4 separate regions of the Homo sapiens genome follow, and regions 2, 3 and 4 are each linked to region 1. The links are contacts of gene promoters, found by promoter capture Hi-C in blood cells and fetal thymus (Javierre and others, 2016). All regions are on one chromosome and are shown on one strand. The core of a region is centred on a gene start or on the middle of the fragment in contact, and the rest is flanking DNA. Distances in the headings are between cores, read along the strand shown. Region 1 holds the start of EMC7 (ER membrane protein complex subunit 7). Region 2 has its middle 13 kb from the start of GOLGA8B. Region 3 has its middle 6.2 kb from the start of GOLGA8A. Region 4 holds the start of LPCAT4 (lysophosphatidylcholine acyltransferase 4).

Region 1 (2,980 bases), core at 290-2,789:
AGAAAAAGACCTTGTCTCAAAAAAATAAAAAGAAAGATACAATGAAACATTAAGGGTTGTTTTCCTACTTTGTTTCTAATATACTATTTTTAAACAGAAATTAAATGCTTTTTAAAAGAACTGTATACAGAAGAGTGGCCAAATGGTCAATTAAGGCTTATTCCTAAAGCTTAATGAGAACTTTATCATTAAAACATCATTAATTAGGGTAAACTCTAACGAATGCCCTAATGCCAGATTCTTAATGACAGACAGCAGTAAAATACTGGTTGTAAATTTGTCACTATTTATTAATCTGAGGTTGAATAACCACTCAAGGGCACTTAGATGATCTGAACAAATATGTAAATCAGATTTGGATTTAAATGTCTACATTTAAGTTGTCTGATTTTCAGATACCATTTGCTGGTGTACGAACCCACCAAAGGAAATACTTCCTAATTATTTGCTTTCAGTTTACAGTTTCACCTCCAAGTAAGGGTGGAAAGATTTAAAACAACATACGCGTGCCTAGACATTTCAAAAGCAGGCTGCTGCAAAACTAGTGCTAACAAATTCATCCTGTCTTTTAATATAGACAGAAAACCCACTTCCACTAATAGCATGAAAGGACAGAAGCAAGAAAGCAATGTAGAGGAACCCTAGTCTCACATAAATGACAAGTGTGATATAGCAAATCTCTCGATGAATTCAACTGTAAAAAAGAACAACGATCCCACCCCCAAGCAAAAAAAAAAAGAAAAAAAAAGTGCTTTGATTAGGGATTTCAGAGCCTATTAATTTTAGAAGCAGTAACATTAGCCTCCCAGTCTATGTCGTCACTAGAAGCCCTTTGGGTTTTGAGAATTCCCACTTGTGTCGCATCTTTCTACATAATAACAAGCTACCAAAAGACTGAAGTGAATGCAAAAAACGACTAGGTTCTAGGGAAACCAGATGAGATATAAAAGAATCCAACAAGAGACTAATAAGGGTCCACCTGTCCCCAGGGCCCAGGAATGATCGTCCCCACATGGGGCCAAAATAAGGTTGGAAATAACTGACTCCATGCTCTGACCATGGCAGGGGGTGAGCGCCTGCCATGCTCATTCCAGAGGTACAGGACCAGGAAAGGGAAAGCATCCGACTGCCTCCCAAGGTCTCCCGGCATAGACCGTTAGCGGCACCCTCCCCTTCAGTCTGAGACAGCGACGTTGTCCCGTCCTGACACTTAACTCTCCTGGTGGGGTCCCTGTCCGGCCTCCATCCCAGCCTTTTTCCCGCTGCCCTCAGGATGCTCACTTAAGGAAACCGACGTGCTCTTCTCCGTCTACCAGCACTCGGGCCGCCGAGATCCAGTCCTGAGGCTTCACCCCTGGAACAACTGCACGCCCCTCAATCTTGAAGCGATCTCCTATGCCGACCCCACTCCCTCCCGATCCCTCAGCAGCAGCCCCGGGCACCTCCGAGCTCTGGACATCCCCCGATAGCAGCAGCAGCAGCAGGACGGGAAAGAAGCCCCACAGAGCGGCCGCCATGACAGCAGCTCTGCACTCAGACCGGCAGCCCCGGAAGCCCTCCCAGTCTCCCGGCCGCCACCGCCGCCGCTGGCGGCTTGATGTTGTCATCACTGCGCGCCCGTTTCTGTCATAAGCTGTGGGATCCAACCAGAGGGAAGAGATCATGGCCGATCGACTAGCGAGGCGGAAGTAAGGCGGAAGTACTGCCCTTAACTCCCGGCACTCTGGATTGGAAGACGGCGCACAGAGCCTGTGTCAAGTGCCTATGAAGGGGACTGCCCATGAAGTGAAAGTCAAGTGTGTGTTGCTGCGGCAGCCACGGAGGCCAAGGACCTCACGGGAGTAAAAGATGACGAGACTGGCTTCGGGAGAAACACCATCCAGAAGAGACCTTTCAAAAAACTTCTAGAGACTCCCCAAGACGTATGAGATGAAAGGCTTCTTCTGTCTGTGTGCGTTTAACTCATTTCTCCTTAGCCCCGAGATTACGCGCTGCTGTGCCTGCGACTGCAGCGTTTACGCCGAGATAACTCGTGGATTACAGTGCCAACCTTACTCCCAAAGTTTGCCACGAAATATCTCGCTTCTGTTATTTTCGCATGGTTCTGGTATATTGACTTTTGAAACAAAAGACATCATTCTGTTTATAGCATTCTGTTTTTAGTAGTGGGATTTCCATCTACAAAATATAGTAATTCTCGATCGCTGAAATGTCAAATCCTAGAAAACGTAGCATTCCTATGCGTGATAGTAATACCGGTCTCGAACAGTTGTTGGCTGAAGATTCATTTGATGAATCTGATTTTTCGGAAATAGATGATTCTGATAATTTTTCGGATAGTGCTTTAGAAGCCGATAAGATCAGGCCTCTGTCCCATTTAGAATCTGATGGAAAGAGCTCTACATCAAGTGACTCAGGGCGCTCCATGAAATGGTCAGCTCGTGCTATGATTCCACGTCAAAGGTATGACTTTACCGGCACACCTGGCAGAAAAGTCGATGTCAGTGATATCACTGACCCATTGCAGTATTTTGAACTGTTCTTTACTGAGGAATTAGTTTCAAAAATTACTAGAGAAACAAATGCCCAAGCTGCCTTGTTGGCTTCAAAGCCACCGGGTCCGAAAGGATTTTCGCGAATGGATAAATGGAAAGACACTGACAATGACGAGCTCAAAGTCTTTTTTGCAGTAATGTTACTGCAAGGTATTGTGCAGAAACCTGAGCTGGAGATGTTTTGGTCAACAAGGCCTCTTTTGGATACACCTTATCTCAGGCAAATTATGACTGGTGAAAGATTTTTACTTTTGTTTCGGTGCCTGCATTTTGTCAACAATTCTTCTATATCTGCTGGTCAATCAAAGGCCCAGATTTCATTGCAGAAGATCAAACCTGTGTTCGACTTTCTTGTAAATAAATTTTCCACTGTATATACTCCAAACAGAAACATTGCAGTTGATGAATCACTGATGCTGTTCAAG
Region 2 (2,980 bases), core at 310-2,809, 490 kb after region 1:
GCTGGGCCTTGTTTATTAGGTTTCAGAATATTGCACCAGTGGTAACACTTAAATATTCAAAACAATGCATTTGGGGGCAATAAAAGGAAACTTTGTGTTACACAGTGTGTTGTTAACTTTTAAATATTAATAGCTTTTATTCTATGATACAGCACATATTGAAATCTTACTTTTAGGCCAGGCATGGTGGCTCAGGTCTGTAATTCCAGCACTTTGGGAGGCCGAGGCAGCTGGCTCACCTGAGGTCAGGAGTTGGTGACCAGCCCGGCCAACATGGCAAAACCCTGTATCTACTAAAAGTACAAAAATTAGCCGGGCATGGTGGTAGGGCCTGTAGTCCCAGCTACTCCAGAGGCTGAGGCAGGAGAATTGCTTAAACCTGGGAGGTGGAGGTTGCAGTGAGCCGAGATCGCGCCACTGCACTCCAACCTGGGTGACAGAGCTAGAGTCTGTCTCAAAAAGAAAAAAGAAATTAAAAAAAAAGAGAAATCTTACTTTTAAGGAAATTTATGGATAATTAATTTATAAAGGTTAATAAGAAAAGTTAATATGTTTAAGAGCAATTTAATGCTTTCCAATTTATCAAATTAGAACTGTACATTTACTCAAAAAGCCCTTTGATAACATCATAAAAAATAATATTGGTCTGGCTGCTCAATAGGTCTGATCTTAAATAGTATTTATAATGTATCAAGGTGAGGCAGAAAATGAAAACAATTTTTCCAGATAATTGGAACTAAAAACACACAGTTATTTAGCATTAATTTTTTCTATTGTGAGAATTTTGGAAAGGAATAAAATCTTTTTTTCCCCCCTGCTAAACTTAGCTTTATTCCCTAAGAAATACAGAAAACACTAGCAAAACATTGAGGTAAAAATACATGCTGACTTTCCACTATACAAACAATGTAAAGGGCTTTCAATTTTTAATAAAAATTATGTGTACCTGTTTTAGTTCATTTGTGTTGCTATAACAGAATACTTGAGACTGGGTAATTTATAAACAAAAGAGGTGTATTTGGCTCACTATCCTATAGTGAGATAGGATAGTGAGTTCCTACCATAGGCTGGGAAGTTTAAGCTTGGGCAGCTGCATCTGGTAGCTTCTAGTAAGGGCCTCATGCTGAGTCAAAGGAAACACAGCGGAGTAATAGAAGGGGAGCTAGGCGCTTTCACAAAAGGGCAAAACACACAAGACGCAAACTCACTTTATAACAACCTATTTTTGGGGAACTAATCTATTCCTGCTAAATTAAACCAGTCTCCAGAAAAAGGTATTAATTCCTCTTAAAGACTTAATCACTTCTTAAAGGCACCACCTCCCAACATTTGCCACATTGGGGGCCAAGCCTCAATGTGAGTTGTGGTGAGGACAAACCATATTCAAACCATAGCAGTAATATTAGACAAGGTTATTCAATCAGCATATATATATATATATATATATACACACACACATACATACACACACACACATATACATATATGTATATGTATATATGTGTATATGTGTATACATGTGTGTATACACAAACACATATATATACACATATACACATATACACATATATACACACATATATACGTATATATATACACACATATATACGTATATATATACACACATATATATACGTATATGTATACACATATATATGTATATATTGTTGTTGTTGTTGTTTGTTTGTTTGTTTGTTTTGAGACAGAGTCTTACCTTGTTGCCCAGGCTGGAATACAGTGGCGCAATCTCGGGTCACTGCAATCCCCACCTCCCAGGTTCAAGCGATTCTCGTGCCTCAGCCAGGCACCACCACGCCCGGCTAATTTTTATTTTTATTTTTTTTAGCAGAGATGGGGTTTCGCCATGTTGGCCAGGCTGGTCTCGAACTCAGGTGATCCGCCCACCTCAGCCTCCCAAAGTGTTGGGATTACAGGCGTCAGCCACTGTGCCCAGCCCAAAGTCAGTATACTTTTATCGAAAGAACTTTACATATTGTGATTCTTTCCACTGACTGTGAAGGTCACCTTAGTTCCTCAAAAGCTTGAGTCATGATTTATCTTCAAGGTAGCCCACAATTCTTTTATTTGGTCTTCATTGATCTCCATTTGAATATGGACATATTGATGACAACCTCAAAAGTTCCCCAACTAGAAATCTTTGGTATCTAATTTTTTTTCTTGAAATTTATTTTAGGATCTGTTTTTTAGTGTCAGAGTAGATAGATCTGCCTGGTTCTTGATTTCAGGACCCTAAGACTCTTAAGAGTCACCTCAAAATGAATGACTTCCAGTCACATTTATTCCTAAGGTGTCATACTCAACAATAGGACAGATGTGTCAGATATGCCAGTACTTACAGTAAAAATAAAAATTATTATTAGGCCACTTGTGCTTCTAGCACTCTATGTTGTAATTCCTTTCCACAGTTCTAACAAAAAGCTCTGTGAATAAAGCAAAACCACAGAGTTACTCTAAAGGTGTTTCCTGTGATGGACATTTAAAATGATTTATTTACTCATCTTTTTTAACTGAGAAGTAAATATTGTATAAATTTATGATGCACATCATGATGTTTTGATATTTAAAGATATTTAAAATATACATTACCTAAAATACTTATTTTTTTCATAGTAAGAACACTTAAAGTTTACTCTGTTAGCAATTGTCAAGCATACAAGATATTGTGATTTTATTTTATTTTATTTTTTATGACGGAGTTTCACTCAGTCCCCAATGATGGAGTGTGGTGGTGCGATCTGGGCTCATTGCAACCTCCACTTTCCAGGTTAAGCGATTCTCCTGCCTCAGCTTCCCGAGTAGCTGGTACTACAGGTGCATGCCACCACACCTGGCTAATTTTTGTATTTTTAGTAGAGACGGGGTTTCACCATGTTGGCCAGGCTGGTCTTGAACTCCTGACATCAAGTAATCCATCCGTCTTGGCCTCCCAAAGTGCTGGGATTACAGCCATGAGCCACCT
Region 3 (2,980 bases), core at 140-2,639, 340 kb after region 1:
TATCCATCTGTCTCAGCTCATTTTATGCTGCTATAACAGAATACCACAGACTGGGTAATTAATTTACAAAACAGAAATGTATCGGCTCATATTTCTGACAAATTCAGAAGACTAAGAGCATGGCACCAGCATGTAGAGAGGGCTTTCTTACTTCTTCATCTTATTTCTTCATGTTATGGAAGGCAAAATATGAAAAGATGAAAAGTGACAATGTACAAACCGTGTATGTATGTGTGTATGTACCTAAAGGTCCCACTTCTCACCACTGTAGCATTGGTGACTGATTAAGTTCCTAATACATGAACTTTGGGGGACACATTCAAACTATAACCCCATCTGATTATTCGTAGAGTTCTCAACAGATCTCAGGCAGAAGGCTTTTTGATAGGTCCAGCCCTTTATCAATTGTAGATAATTAGAAGTGATACACATCTTTACCAGGCTTCACGCCTTCCTTCTGCCAAGCTTACATTCCTAAACATAAAGCACATCCACATTCACTTGAATTTTTCACCTATATTGAACTTCTTGGAATTCGAGGCCTCAAATCAATGCAGAATAAAAGGAGATAACGGTAAATTTGAAGAATTAAATGATCATGACCATTTTTAAGTCAGGTCTTTCGCAATGACCGTGGTCAATAATGGCCAAGACAAATGGAGATGAATTATACATAGAATGAATACATTAAAATGTCATCTACTTTTCTTTCTCCAGAAGGATTCACTGTTCTATGTGCGCCTCTCATCTGCCTTTTTATTAATTAACCTTTCTACTGAAGTCTGGACGATCTCCAACCAGTATTCCTAGTTTGTGGTATTGTAGAAATATATTTTTGTGTTTTAACGAGTCAACAAAGCATTTGTAAGAAATCATCATAAAAATCTATTAAGCATTCATTTTGCATCAAACATTTATTGCGTAAAATAAGCAGATACAATGAAAATTCTTCTTGATGGTGGAAAGGTATCACTGTAAAAAATCATTATCATCTTGGGTTGCAATACAGCAGTAAACACAGAGATTTTGATATATGTAGGACCTATATTGCTGAGCTTAGCTATGCTCTCTGTATTTTGTTTCTTTGCCTTTCTTGTCAAGTTGTCAGCAATCACTTCACACTACTGAAAATATAATTAATTGCCTTTAGCAGTTCCCTCCCTGCTTCTAACCTTATACTTTGAAGCAGAAGCAGAAAATTACTTTGGCTGAGAGTCAGAGCTAACCTGAACGTTGTATTAAGTGGAGGCCAAAAGTTTCTGAAAATGTACTGGGGGCTTTATTCATGGATGAAAGGGTATAAAACCTTTGTTTTATTGATCTGCACTTCCTAATTTTTATACTTACAACCATTGTCCAAAATTTTATATATTGCTTCAGATGTCTTGTATTCCACACCAATGGAAGGTACCGCGTCTTATTCATCCTTCACCTCCAAGTTCCTACCAAAATGCCTGACATATGATAGGTACTTACTGAAAATTGAATGGAACCAACTTACTGATTATCTATTCTCCCTTGGATATCTCACATGCATCTGAAACTTAGTATGTGGGAAACTGAGCTCATTTTCCTTCTTCCATGCTCAACATTGTCTTTTCCCTCCTGTGTTTCCTATTTTGATGAATAGCCCATATTCTCAACCAATTACCTAGGCCAAGAGCCTTGGAGCCAACCTTTCTCTTTTCCCCTCACTACTCACAACTAATTGATAACCAACTGTTGTCTACCCCCTGCCCCCCACAAAAAACAGCAGATTAATCCATGACCTCCTCTCCACTCTCACTGCACTGTCTTGGTCACAGCCGTCACAATTCTTCGTCTGGAATGTAATATCTCCTAATAGTCCTATCCATTCCAATTCACTTTCCAGATTCCTGACAAAAATAATTTTTCTGAAGAGAAATCTGATCATTAAATTTAGCTGATTGATTGCAAAATTAAGTTCTCCATGTTAGAGATGAGAGTTTGGGAAAAAGAAGGCAGCAAGAATTCACAAAGAAGAATAACAGAGATCAGAAAACTATCCACAGAGACAGCTTCAGAGATTTTCAGGGGATGTGCAGATTTATTGAATCTTCCAATTAATACTGATCAACACAAGTATGTGAGGAAATGGTCAAGGCCAGGGTACAAACCACTAGAAAGGGAAGGCAAAAAAGTCTCCAGAATTCACATAAGGTCATAAGTAGTTTGTGTTTCCATTAGCCAGGGTAGAAAATCCTCGAATCAGTTAGAGTACTCAGAAGGATATTGTCTCACTAATGTGGAAACAATTCTATCTAGACTGAAAGGTGCTCTGGTTCTACCAAGCAAAGCTTAAAAGCAAACTTCAACACAAGCAAATTATTCCTAAGTAATTTAACTGCATCCCAGAATAAAGCTTAACTATTCAGCACAAAATAAGGTAGAATTCACTATGTCCAGCATTCGATAAGAATATATCAGGCATAGAAATAGGCAGAAAAATGATACATATTGAAGAGAAAAAAATCAATCAAGAGAAACAGACCCACAATGACACAGTTGCTAAAATTAGTAGATAATGACATTAAAACAGGTATCTATGTTTGAAAAGGTAGAGGAAAGCATCAAATGAGAGACATGAAAGAGAGAGCAAAATGTGAAATCATCTTCTCGGGATTAATCAAACAAACATGGAAACAATGTCTTAGATGAAAACTATACTGGATGAAATCAAAAGCAGATTATCAATTGCAGTAAAAAAACAGTGAATGTAATTGTTTAACAATAGAAAGTATCTGAAATGAAAAATAAAAATGGGAAGAGAACATCAGTGGGATAACTTCAGTGGCCTATTATAAGGGTAACTGGATTCCCCAAAGGATAGGAGGGAAAAAAGTTTTCAGGAAATAATGTATGAAAGAATAGTTACTGAAAACAATTACATTTAATAAATTGAGCTCTCCTCAGCCTAATGAGTGTCAAAAGTCTCTTCTTTTCTTGGACTTTCTGCTGA
Region 4 (2,980 bases), core at 1-2,500, 270 kb after region 1:
TTTATAAAACCGAAAGCCATAAAAAGCATCTAGCACTTAGAGGATTTAATAAGAATGCATGCGAAAGTGCAGGGCGCTGTGCTTGATGTACAGTAGGTTAGAGACAGGTCCTCCTCCCCCACATCTTATTCCATAAATAGCTCCTATGCCCAACAGAAACCAGGTGCACAGATCTTTCCACTTTGGGCCTAGGAGGCAGAGGGCTGTAAACAGCCAGAGGTCCAGTTTTCAGACCCGAGGTCATTTTCTGACACTGCTCAACAGCAATCTTAGAGTACCGGGGGATATGGGAGACAAGAGCTCGGCCCCACTCTGCAAGGGAGAGAGGCTGCCAGGAGCCAGGATGACTCCATAGGCTGCCTTGGGGAAGAAGCAGGTAAGCAAACCTAGCCCCTGGAGCCTGCCTCCGGGGAGGTGATGACAGCAGAAACCTTGGACACTCCCTCCCCACACCACCTCCCAGCTCCCCTAGGCTGGCGCGGCCCTCCACTTCCTGTAGCCAACCTCCCTCTCAGCCTCCCTGCCCCCACCGGGAGGTGCTGCAGTGCGGGGTGGAGGGGGGTTGGAGGGAGTGGGAAGAGGGAGTGTAGGAAGGGCACAGGGTCGCAGGCTCCCGGCCCAGAAACGTCTTCCCTCTAAGTCATGCCTCGGAGGAATACTCGGCACGCCCCCGCCCCCGCCCCCACCCCCGGCTTCCCGTAGACTCTAACTCCATCCTAGCCATCAGGCTCTGCAGAATGTAATCCGCATTCCCCAGCGTCCTTCATCTCTCCAACCCCAGGGTCCCCTGCAGCCCTCCATCCCCACCTACTCAGTTTTTCCACATCTTCGAGCTTGTCTATCGCCCAAGCCCGCAGCGTCCTCTCCAGGACTCCTTGCCCAACCGCGGCCGCCCCCACGTGCGCACCCCCGGACTCCCGCTCCGCAAGCCTCTCAGCCATCTCCTTCTCGTGGATCCCCAAGCCCACCTTTGCCAGGGCTCAAATGGCCCCATTTTCCTATCCTCACGGGTCCTTCCGACGCCCGCTCCCCACACATTACCTTAACCCTCTGGAGGCGAGAGAGATGTAACTCATGCACGAAGGGGTTGGGGGATGCTGGGGGTCCGGGGGTGGGATCTAGGGGGGCCCAGTCCCCCGGACTTCCCTGGCTCATGGCGGGAGAAGGTGGGAGGGAGGGCACCCCGGCCCTGGCCCCGGCCACCACTCTGCAGAGCAGCTGCTGCTGCAGCAGCGGCGGCGGCGGCGCTCTGGCCCGGGCCCCGCCCGGTGCAGGCGGCCGAGGGGCGGGGAGCAGGCGGCGCAGCCCAGCCCGCCCGCGTTGTCAGGGCGCCGGCCGAGGGGCGGGGCTTCCAGCGCCCTGGCGCCCCTGCTCCTCCGCGCCCGCCGCGGCGCCCGCAGCCGCTCGGGCCATTGTTCCGCGGCTGCCAGGGCTGGAGCGGGCTGCCCCTGGGCTTCTGCGCCTCCGTCGTTCCTCTCTGAAGACCTGGCCTCCGCCTCGGAGTGGGAGTGGGTCTGGGAGCTGAGCGCAGAGCTCAGAGCGCCCTCTGTCCCCGCCCGGGCGTCGAGGTCACCCAGCAAGCGCAGATCGGGGTGAGGCTCTTGGGTTGGTAGGCAGGGAGGGACAGGTGGGCCGGATGCAGAGGCCGGCAGCTCGCGGGTGAGGCGGCGCCCCGCTCTTCCTATGGGCTCCTTGGCCCGGTCCGCGCCTCCTCGCAGGCGGACCACCTTTCCTTCCCGGTCCGTGGGGCGCCATCGCGCGGGGACTTGAGGCACTTGCGTCCTCTGGCGGCTGCATGGCGCCCCGCAACTCTCCACCTCCGCGTCCTGCCTGTGCTAGGCAGGGCCGCCTTTACTGGTGTGAGGGTTGCTTGAACCCTTGAGGCGCCAGGAATCCCTAGTACACTGACGCATGTGCTTCCCATGAGCCCGACAAGGTCTGGCAGGGGAGAGGCAGTGGTTCCTGATCTCTGTCACTCTCTGGGTGAACGCAGAGGACACAGTAGTAATTCCCCTCACCCACAAGCTCCAAGCTACCCTAGAAAACAAATTGTTTAGCCTCAGGCCATCGTTTGAGATCAGGGACCAGGGAATTAAGTGGACTCTGAGATCCATTGCCATGACAAAAGGGGTAAGAGTCTCATTGCTTGAGGAAAGAATACGCCTTAAGTTCACTTTATGTCTTCTGCCCATTGCATGGCAGTTAGGGGAGCTGAAGGAAGAAAGTGAAAGAAAAAGAGACCTCTCATAACCAAGAGTGTTTGCCGCCACTGGCTTCTCCTTTAAACCAAACTCCAAATTAATCTGCTCCAGGAAATTTTCTGAGCCCAGGCTGAGAGGGTTGAAGGCTCATGCATCCTACTGAGACCAAGGAGCTGCACTGGGATGTTTTTGTATATAACACAGAGGTCCCAACACAAATACATCATTTCCACATTTTATTTTTGTATAGATAGGGTCTCGCTATATTGCCCAGGCTGGTCTCGAACTCCTAGCCTCAAGTGAGCCTCCCACCTCGGCCTTCCAAACTGTTGGGACTACAGGTAGTGAGCCGCCATGTACAACCCAAACCTTTTTTTTTTAAGCAGATGATTTCAGCTTTCTCACCAGAACCGAGAAAGTACAACTGCATGTATTAGTCTCCCTTGCCTTGCCTTTGGGGAGAAGTTTGTGTGTGTGTGTGTGTGTGTGTGTGTGTGTGTGTGTGTGTGTGTGTTTGTCTTTTGTTGTTGTTGTTTTGGGACGGAGTCGCGCTCTTGCTCTGTTGCCCAGGCTGGAGTGCAATGGCGTGATCTCAGCTCGCTGCAACCTCCGTCTCCCGGCTCCAAGCAATTCTCCTGCCTCAGCCTCCTGAGTAGCTAGGATTATAGGCGGGCACCACCACACCCGGCTAATTTTTGTATTTTTAGTAGAGACGGGGTTTCATCATATTGGTTAGGCTGGTCTCGAACTCCTCACCTCATGATCCACTCGCCTCAGCC

What was found. The method cuts DNA at HindIII sites, captures the fragments that hold promoters and counts their contacts. A CHiCAGO score of 5 or more calls a contact.
Region 2: a contact is called between a fragment that was not itself captured here and the fragment with the promoter of EMC7 in region 1, in 2 of 17 cell types (fetal thymus and activated CD4 T cells). The highest score is 8.3, in fetal thymus.
Region 3: a contact is called between a fragment that was not itself captured here and the fragment with the promoter of EMC7 in region 1, in 4 of 17 cell types (activated CD4 T cells, total CD4 T cells, total CD8 T cells and 1 more). The highest score is 7.3, in activated CD4 T cells.
Region 4: a contact is called between the fragment with the promoter of LPCAT4 here and the fragment with the promoter of EMC7 in region 1, in 2 of 17 cell types (neutrophils and non-activated CD4 T cells). The highest score is 8.4, in neutrophils.

What each region holds. Positions count from the first base shown.
Region 1 is chr15:34,100,323-34,103,302 of GRCh38, forward strand. It overlaps EMC7 (ER membrane protein complex subunit 7), which reads right to left and starts at 1,540. Exons shown (of 5, transcript NM_020154.3): 1 at 1,282-1,540. The coding sequence starts at 1,517. PGBD4 (piggyBac transposable element derived 4) reads left to right here and starts at 1,761. Exons shown (of 1, transcript NM_152595.5): 1 at 1,761-2,980. The coding sequence starts at 2,210. RefSeq lists enhancers at 684-1,541, 1,151-1,850, 1,881-1,970. The HindIII fragment of the contact is 6,792 bases long and covers 168-2,980 here.
Region 2 is chr15:34,595,058-34,598,037 of GRCh38, forward strand. No RefSeq gene overlaps it. Among named protein-coding and RNA genes, the nearest start is that of GOLGA8B, 13 kb to the left of the region's middle. The HindIII fragment of the contact is 960 bases long and covers 1,080-2,039 here.
Region 3 is chr15:34,442,475-34,445,454 of GRCh38, forward strand. No RefSeq gene overlaps it. Among named protein-coding and RNA genes, the nearest start is that of GOLGA8A, 6.2 kb to the left of the region's middle. The HindIII fragment of the contact is 1,853 bases long and covers 464-2,316 here.
Region 4 is chr15:34,365,946-34,368,925 of GRCh38, forward strand. It overlaps LPCAT4 (lysophosphatidylcholine acyltransferase 4), which reads right to left and starts at 1,251. Exons shown (of 14, transcript NM_153613.3): 1 at 1,042-1,251. The coding sequence starts at 1,155. RefSeq lists silencers at 656-745, 826-875, 996-1,455, 1,586-1,635 and enhancers at 1,411-2,406, 2,006-2,295. The HindIII fragment of the contact is 20,785 bases long and covers 1-2,980 here.